Regions from separate parts of the Homo sapiens genome. Here regions 2 and 3 are each linked to region 1. The links are contacts of gene promoters, found by promoter capture Hi-C in blood cells and fetal thymus (Javierre and others, 2016). All regions are on one chromosome and are shown on one strand. The core of a region is centred on a gene start or on the middle of the fragment in contact, and the rest is flanking DNA. Distances in the headings are between cores, read along the strand shown. Region 1 holds the start of LINC01011 (long intergenic non-protein coding RNA 1011). Region 2 has its middle 43 kb from the start of PRP4K. Region 3 overlaps GMDS (GDP-mannose 4,6-dehydratase).

Evidence for each region. Contacts are between HindIII fragments. The CHiCAGO score rates a contact against its expected background, and 5 or more counts as called.
Region 2: a fragment that was not itself captured here is called in contact with the fragment with the promoter of LINC01011 in region 1 in 1 of 17 cell types (fetal thymus); the score reaches 5.1 in fetal thymus.
Region 3: a contact is called between a fragment that was not itself captured here and the fragment with the promoter of LINC01011 in region 1, in 1 of 17 cell types (neutrophils). The highest score is 6.6, in neutrophils.

Annotation. Positions count from the first base shown.
Region 1 is chr6:2,986,533-2,989,387 of GRCh38, forward strand. LINC01011 (long intergenic non-protein coding RNA 1011) reads left to right here and starts at 1,435. Exons shown (of 3, transcript NR_026856.1): 1 at 1,435-1,499. It overlaps NQO2-AS1 (NQO2 antisense RNA 1), which reads right to left. Exons shown (of 2, transcript NR_186367.1): 2 at 2,804-2,855. RefSeq lists enhancers at 1,377-2,186, 2,187-2,855 and a silencer at 2,380-2,799. The HindIII fragment of the contact is 2,996 bases long and covers 856-2,855 here.
Region 2 is chr6:3,977,014-3,979,868 of GRCh38, forward strand. It overlaps the pseudogene GLRX3P2. Among named protein-coding and RNA genes, the nearest start is that of PRP4K, 43 kb to the right of the region's middle. RefSeq lists a silencer at 1,282-1,576. The HindIII fragment of the contact is 944 bases long and covers 869-1,812 here.
Region 3 is chr6:2,238,160-2,241,014 of GRCh38, forward strand. All of the region lies in intron 1 of GMDS (GDP-mannose 4,6-dehydratase), which reads right to left. Among named protein-coding and RNA genes, the nearest start is that of GMDS, 6.0 kb to the right of the region's middle. The HindIII fragment of the contact is 4,332 bases long and covers 1-2,855 here.

The sequences.
Region 1 (2,855 bases), core at 185-2,684:
CCTCATTCTACAAACTTTTATTCTGCACTCACTATAGGCTGGGAGCTACACTAGGGCCTGGGGACATGAAGACAGGCGACACGGTCCCTGGGCTCAAGATGCCAGACAGATGTGCAAACAAGTGAAATCTGATGTGATATGTGCTTTAGTGGTGCCAAGGATAAAAGGATAAGTGTTAAGAAAAAGTAGCAACAATATGTCTGACTGGGAGAATCAAGAAAGGTGTCATAGAGTCCCTAACACTTGAGCTGAGAATGAGAAAGAGCATGAGCTGGCCAGGTGACACACAGAGCATATTCCAACCTAGGAGACTGGGAAATGGGCCAAAATATATACGTTTGAGGAAACAAATAGCTTACTATATAATTAAATATGAGGCAGTTTAGACTGGGCCCTTATGGATAAGTCACACCCATAAATTTTATTTCATCTTACAGGCAGTGGAGAGCCTCTGGAGGATTCTGAGCTTCGTGGTCTCATCATCAGAGTTATGTATGGCAACCATCCCAACCTTTTTGGCACCAGGGAGGGGTTTTGTGGAAAACTATTTTTCCTTGGACAGCAGAGGATGGTTTCGGGATGATTCAAGCACATGACACTTCTTGTGCACTTTATTTTCAGTGGGAGCCCTGAGCTTGTTTTCCTGCAACTATCTGGCCCCATGTGGGGGTGATGAAGACAACGGCAGATTATCAGGCATTAGATTCTCATAAGGAGCGCACATCCTAGATCCCTTATGTGTGCAGTTCACAGTAGGGTTTGTGCTCCTATAAGAATCTAATGCTGCCTGATCTGATAGGAGGCAGAGCTCTGGTGGTAATGCAAGCAATGGGGAGCAGCTGCACATACAGATAAAGCTTCACTAGCTCACCCACTGGTGGCTCACCTCTTGCTGTGTGTCCTGGTTCCTAACAGGCTACAGACCAGTCAGGTCTGTGGCCCGGGGGTTGGGAACTCCTGGTGTATGGAAGAGACTACTCTGCAGCAATGTGGACAAATAGGATGAGGGTGAGCTGTCAGGGGAGACAGGCACACATGGCAGAGCTATTTAAAAAGGAGGATAGATGACCAGGCACAGTGGCTCATGCCAGTAATCCCAGCACTTTGGGAGGCAGAGGCAGGCGGATCACGAGGTCAGCAGTTCAAGACCAGCCTGGCCAACATGGCAAAACCTCATCTCTGCTAAAAATACAAAAATTAGCTGGGCGTGGTGACATGCGCCTGTAATCCCAGCTACTCAGGAGGCTGAGGCAGGAGAATCACTTGAACCCGGGAGGCAAAGATTGCAGTGAGCCGAGATCGTGCCATTGCACTCTAGCCTGGGCAACACAGCAAGACTCTGACTGGAAAAAAAAAAAAAAAAAAAGGAGGATAGACAGGGCTTGGGGATTGGTGGATGGGTAGATAAGGAAGGAGGAGTCTAGCATGACTCTCAGACTACTGACTTGGACCAGCAGGGGAATGGCTGTGACAATAAATAAGATTGGGAAAACAAGAAGGTGAGCAAATTTAGAGGAGAAAATGAATTTCATTTTTGGCATGGTGTGGAAGGCTCGGGAGAGAGGTCTAGGCACCAGATGTCAACGTGAGGTGAAATGGATATAGCTGAAGTCAAGGGTGTGGTGAGGTTTTGCAGGGAGAGCAGGGACCTCCAGCAAGGCCAGTGCATAAGGGAGAATAGAGAAAAAAAGAACCAGAAAAAGACAAGGAGAGGCCAGAGAGGTGTGGAAAGAACCAGGGAAGACAGTTATTCACAACAAACAAAAGAGGGCAGAGTTTTAGAGAAGGAACTGAGCAGTTTGGGGCTCCAGGTGGGGCAGGAGTGGGTGGCCACGGTTGAGGGGCAGTGGCCTTCAAATTGGTCTGGGTAGGTTCTAATGGGTCAGATTGGTCAGTCCTTTCCAGGACACTGAAGGCTGCAGAGGTGTGACTGGATGCTGGTGGAGGGATGCATGGCGGGGAAGCTGAGTCAGATCCTGAAATCCTCCAAGCATGCGCCTGAAATGACCAAGGGAAATGAAGGCGGAGGCTGCTGTCGCCTGGTGGCCTGGGAAGGGCCAAGAGCCAGGGAGCTGGAGGGAGGAGAGAACGTGCGACCTCAGCACGGAGCACTGTAGGGGAGGCGGGGCTGGAGGGAGATGGCGCCGCGCTCCCGGATGAACAGAGAAAGCGACAGGGTGAGTCGCAGGGCACAGTGTGGGATGAGTCACCGACAGCAAGGCATGGACTCCGGGAAGAAGGGGAGACGAGCCGGGAAAGACTTGCATCGGGGATGTGAGCTGAGCTGCACCCAGACAAAAGCGGCTCGGGGCTCCTGAAAGCAGCAGGCACCGCCGGTCCTGCCAAGGGGCTACTTCCTGCGCGGAGTAGGAGAGTAGGAGACCCCAGGCCAGTCCCAATCCCCGGCCCGTCCGGGATGAGGGGGGCTGCGGGAGCTGCGGGGGCCTCCTCCAGGGAGGACGGTTGCAGGGTCCCTCGGCCGCCGCCCACTCCCGGGGGCGTTCCTTCCTCCCAGCTGCGCCCGGAGCGCCTGCTGCCTGGCGAGAGCCCGCCCCTCTGCAACCAGCCCGCTGCAGCGGAGGGCGCCTGGGTGCCCTCGGCCGAGCCAGCAGCCCACGGTCGGCGCCGCACTGTCCCCTGGTGGCGGAGCGCTCCCGCGACCCGGCTCGCCACGCCTGGGAGGGGTCCAGGAGGACGCGGCTGGGACCTGGGGGCTCTCAGGGTGGGGCCTTGGGGGATGAGGCTGGGGCCCGCGGGAAACCGGGCTGGGGCGAGGAGGCTCGCAGGACTTCCTGCCACAGAATGTTTCGATGCTTTTTTTAATTCTGCAAATGTAAGCCTTTCCACTTTAAGTC
Region 2 (2,855 bases), core at 91-2,590, 990 kb after region 1:
CCATTCTGCCACTCTATCAAGCCAAGCTTCAGGATGATGGCAAACATGGTAAGACCAGTGAATTCCAAATAAAGGCATTCACAACATCATGCTTTCGTGAGCACATTGCTGCACTTCATTTGCTGTGAAATCAGTTCCTTGTCAGAAGCAAAGCTAGGAAGAGTGCCACTATCATACATTAGGTATTCTGTAAGTAAGTCCAGAGATGACCATTTTGGAGGAACCACTGTGGACAGGGAGGGCAATCCATCCATCTCCAGTGAGAACAAAGCAGTGCTTCTGGCAAGATGGAAATGGTCCACGTTACTTAAACTGTTGATTCCCCCAAATAACAGTGCCACATCATGGGCTCAATGTTTGTCTCTGCTGTTGGCAGGCTGGGCACCCTGCAGGAGCCATTTGCAAATCAGACTTTCACCGAGCCTAAGCTCAGCTCCATCCCTGCCACCTTGGGAACAGAATTCTGGGAAGTATAGTTCCCAACCTCAGAAGAACGGTGGTGTCATCAGGTTGACAAGAGGCAATCCAGCACAGATGTTCTCCTTGCCTCTCAGTGTTCTGAAAGGTCATTCCGATGTGCTGGGCCTTTCTGCATCACTGCAATGGGCACTCAGGAAGCCCTTTCTGTACAAAAGCACATGTTCTCAAGTTCGTGTAGATTTTTATTATTTTAGTTTCTTCTCCTTTGTTTACTCTGTTCTCTCTGGAATTCCTAATATCATGCACCTCTGAGTTGATTCTCTAATTTTCTTATCTTTTCCCTTCCCTTCTCTCCTTCTGTCCTCCACACTGCCTTTTTTGTTCTTTCTGGGATATGTTATTGACTTTATCTTCCAAAGTATCTGCTTATTTATTTGAAGATTTTTAAAGCTTTTTATTTTTAAATAATTATAGATTCACAGGAAATATTATTTCAAAATTCAAAAAAAGGTACTGGGATGTCTCATGCACCGCCCCCCCAGACTCCCTCACTGTTAACATCCTGAACGACTATAGCATAATATCGAAAATGAAAAATTGAAATTGGTGGTGGCGGCAGCACGGTGGCAGGGGCAGCAAGGCGGCTGCAGCAGCTGTAGAAGAGGTCAGCTCAGCCGGCCAGTTTGAGGAGCTGCTGCGCCTCAAAGCCAAGTCCCTCCTTGTGGTCCACAATGTGCACAGATGAACGAAGTTATGGCAGAGTTAGCTAAAGAACACCCTCAAGTTTCATTTGTGAAGTTGGAAGCTGAAGGTGTTCCTGAAGTATCTGAAAAATATGAAATTGGCTCTGTTCCCACTTTTCTGTTTTTCAATAATTCTCAGAAAATTGACCGATTAGATGGTGCACACATCCCAGAGTTGACCAAAAAAGCTCAGCGACATCTAGTGGCTCCTTCCCACCCAGCACTGATGAACATCTTAAAGACCAAAAAAGCTCAGCGACATGCATCTAGTGGCTCCTTCCCACCCAGCACTGACGAACATCTTAAAGAAGATCTCAACCTTCGCTTACAGAAACTGACTCATGCTGCCCCCTGCATGCTGTTTATGAAAGGAACTCCTCAAGAACCACTCTGTGGTTTCAGCAAGCAGATGGTGGAAATTGTTCACAAACATAATATTTAGTTTAGCAGTTTTGATGTCTTTAGATCAAGAGGTTCGACAGGGGCTCAAAGCCTATTCCAATTGGCCTACCTATCCTCAGCTCTACGTTTCTGGAGAGCTCATAGGAGGACTTGATATAATTAAGGAGATACACGCATCTGAAGAACTAGATATAATTTGTCCCAAAGCTCCCAAATTAGAGGAAAGGCTCAAAGTGCTGACAAATGAAGCTTCTATGATGCTCTTTATGAAAGGAAACAAACAGGAAGCAAAATGTGGATTCAGCAAACAAATTCTGGAAATACTAAATAGTACTGGTGGTGAATATGAAACATTCGATATATTGGAGGATGAAGGAGATCGGCAAGGATTAAAAGCTTACTCAAATTGGCCAACATACCCTCAGCTGTATGTGAAAGGGGAGCTGGTGGGAGGATTGGATATTGTGAAAGAGCTGAAAGAAAATGGTGAATTGCTGCCTATACTGAGAGGAGAAAATTAATAAATCTTAAACTTGGTGCCCAACTATTGCAAGAAATACTTAATTACATTGGGAGCAGTTCATGATTTAGTCCTCAGAAATGGGCTAGGAATAGAAAAATCCTGCTTACTCAGTTACATGTTTTTTGTATTTCACAATGTCGTGCTAAATAAAAGTATGTTACATGTTTTCCCACTAAAAATAGAATGCAATAAACATCTTCAAATTATTAACAATAACTGTATAAAAAAGTGTATCTTTACAGCAATATTAAACATACAGCTACTAGAAAAAAACTGAAATTGGTACAATCTACAGAGCTCATTCAGATTTCACAAGTTACACATGCCCGTGTGTGTTTGGCATAACTTTTTGCAATTTTATCACTTGTGTTGTCTTGGATAGCCACCATCACAATCAAGATACACAACAGTACCATAGCCGTAAGAGTCCCGCATGTTACCACTTTATGAACATACCTATTCCCTCTTCCCCCATTCCTAATCCCTCACAACCAGTAATCTGTTCTCCATTTCAAAAATGATGTTTCATCAATGTTGCATAGATGAAATCACGCAACATGCTTAAGATTGGCTTTTTTTCACTCAGCATAATTTCTTCTAAGCTATGTGTGTGTTGTTTTTCTGTTTTTACTGTTAGTAGTATTTCCACAGTATAAATGTACTACAATTTGTTTAATCATTCACTCATTACAGAACATTTGGGTTGTTTCCAGTTTGGAACTATTATAAATAAAACTGCTATGAACATTTGCATATCTATTTATTTA
Region 3 (2,855 bases), core at 155-2,654, 750 kb before region 1:
GAGGATTGCTTGAGGCCAGGAGTTCAAGACTAGCCTGGTCAGCTGGTGAGATCCTGTCTCTACAAAAAAAAAAAAAAAATAGTAAAAAAATCAGTCAGGCTTGGTGGCAGCTACCAGGGAGGCTGAAGCAGGAGGATCACCTGAGCCCAGGAGTTCAAAGCTGCAGCGAGCTATGATTGCACCACTGCACTTCAAACTCCAGAGGAACAAAATAATTCACTGTCTTCCCCCAGAAAACTGATTTTCCTTCCCAGTGGTTGCATTTCTGGCCATACTATTACCATCCAACCTGTCACCAAAATGCATTTGCATCCTTGATCTCATTATCCTCATACTTTTACTATTCTCATTCATCCTACATACCCCTAACTGCATTCCCAAGCACTTCTCCATCCTTCTCTCATTCCTTCCCACTGTGAGAACTTATTCATAATAAATAAGAACTATCACTTCATAAACACTACATGCCAGGAACAGTGATAGGCCTTATTATAATATAATCATCATTTGTAATCCACACATCAATTTGTGATGTGGGCATAATTAACTCCATTTTTCTACCCAAGAAAAACCCAAGAATTTAAAACTCCTTCCTCTATCCTAATTTCCCTGATTTGAACTTTACAAACATGTACCAAAATATCACACATACCCCATAAATATGTACAATTATTATGTACCAGTTAAAAAAAAAATCGTTCCTCACCAAAAAGTCACTTCATTCATTTGATATGTCCTACAAAGATGGACAGCTCCAAGTTTTCACTCTATCCTTACAAATTCTGACAACATACAACTCATATGAATTTCTTCTTAGTTTACAAACTTAATTTCAAATTCAGTAAAATTAATAGTTCATTGGTTTCATTTAAAAAAAAAACTATCCTGGCCGGGCACGGTGGCTCACGCCTATAATCCCAGCACTTTGGGAGGCCAAGGTGGGCGGATGACTTGAGGCCAAGAGTTCAAGACCAGCCTGGCCAACATGGCAAAACCCCAACTCTACTAAAAATACAAAAATTAGTTGGGCGTGGTAGCGCACGCCTGTAATCCCAGCTACTCAGGAGGCTGAGGCACAAGAATCACTTGAACCCAGGACACGGATGTTGCAGTGAGTGAGATCATACCACCATTGCACTCCAGCCTAGGCAACAGAGTAAGATCTGTCTCAAAAAAAAAAAAAAAAAATCCAATTGGCTTTATGTCTAAAACTGAAATTACTGCACTGCTTAAATATAAAGATAATTGCATAATTTCTCTATTGTACACATAATAAGTCAGCATGTAATCCAAACATCACACTACTGTAGACTAGGAGCAGCCCTTAGATCCCTAAGAATAACCAGGTAACCCTTTCACTTGACAAGTTAAGAAAAACACTCAAAAAATGTAAGGCTATACAATTAATTGGTATCAAAACCCAACCTCTGATTCCCAGTCCAGAGCTCTTTCAATTAATCACATGTAACAGTCTTTGATTAAGCAGGACAGTACTCAAGACATCTCTCTCACTTCCAATAATGCCAGACCTTTTTTTTTTTTTTGAAATGGAGTCTTGCTCTGTCGCCCAGGCTGGAGTGCAGTGGCACGATCTCGGCTCACTGCAAGCTCTGCCTCCCGGGTTCACCCCACTCTCCTGCCTCAGCCTCCCAAGCAGCTGGGACTACAGGCACCTGCCCCCATGCCCAGCTAATTTTTTTGTATTTTTAGTAGAGACAGGGTTTCACTATGTTAGCCAGGATGGTATCGATCTCCTGACCTCGTGATCCAGAGATTTGGGAGGCCCGCCTCAGCCTCCCAAAGTGCTGGGACCACAGGTGTGAGCCACCACGCCCAGCCCAATAATGCCAAACCTTTTATCCCAGGACTGCAAATCCCAGCAAGGAAGATTTAGAATGGAAGTCACTGCCTACAATCCTCTTATATGAGAAGATAAGACCAGCTCCCAGATCTGCTTTGCACAGTCTTGAAAGACTCACTGGACATTAAATCTGTTGGCCTCCCAGTACTTTATAGCCTTGTGGTTGATTCCAAATATTACAGAACTTTCTGCTTCTAGATAATAGATTCCCCATGCAAAGCAAGGCTAAATAGTAATACCTCCCACATTCAACTTCCTTTCCTAAAAGTCAAGAAATCTTTTATTATTCTGTTAACACTATGGAGGGAAGGTCCATTCCAGTAATGAGGCAAAGGCCACTACTATGTGCAGATTTATTTCCTATTTGATAAGAATTATTCTTCCAACCTGGCAGAAAAGATAAGTGACTTACCCAAAGCCAGTGCAGTTCAGAAAGAGCTAAGCAGTAATTCAAACACCTGTAATCCCAGCTACTCAGGCAGCTAAGGCACGAGAATCATTTGAACCTGGAAGGTAGAGGTTGCAGTAAACCGAGGTCACGTCACTGCACTCCAGCCTGGACAACAGAATAAGACTGTCTCAAAAAAAAAAAAAAAAAAAGAAAAGAAAAAGAAAACCACCTCATAGAAGCTCTCTGTTGCTTCAACAAATATACTTTGAACAAAATGTAATGCACTTTGAACGGTACCTGGCACAAACTAAATGCTCAGTACTTGTTAATTATTTTAATCTACCATAATTATAACTATCACCATCATCATACCACTAGACTATCAATGTCATAAGGAAGATGGTAATTCAGTCTGTTGCATTTGCTGTTCAAAGTGCATTACTTGTAGAATTGGTAGAGAAAAGGGAAACAGATCAGAAAAATTTTTCAAATCTACAACCTGGTCATGTGATAGTGAAAGAAAACAGCATTTTTCAGTAAAGAAAGCCAATGGTGCTGGGGAGCAATCACCTGCTAAAGAGGTTGGCATGGATAAAAGGGAGC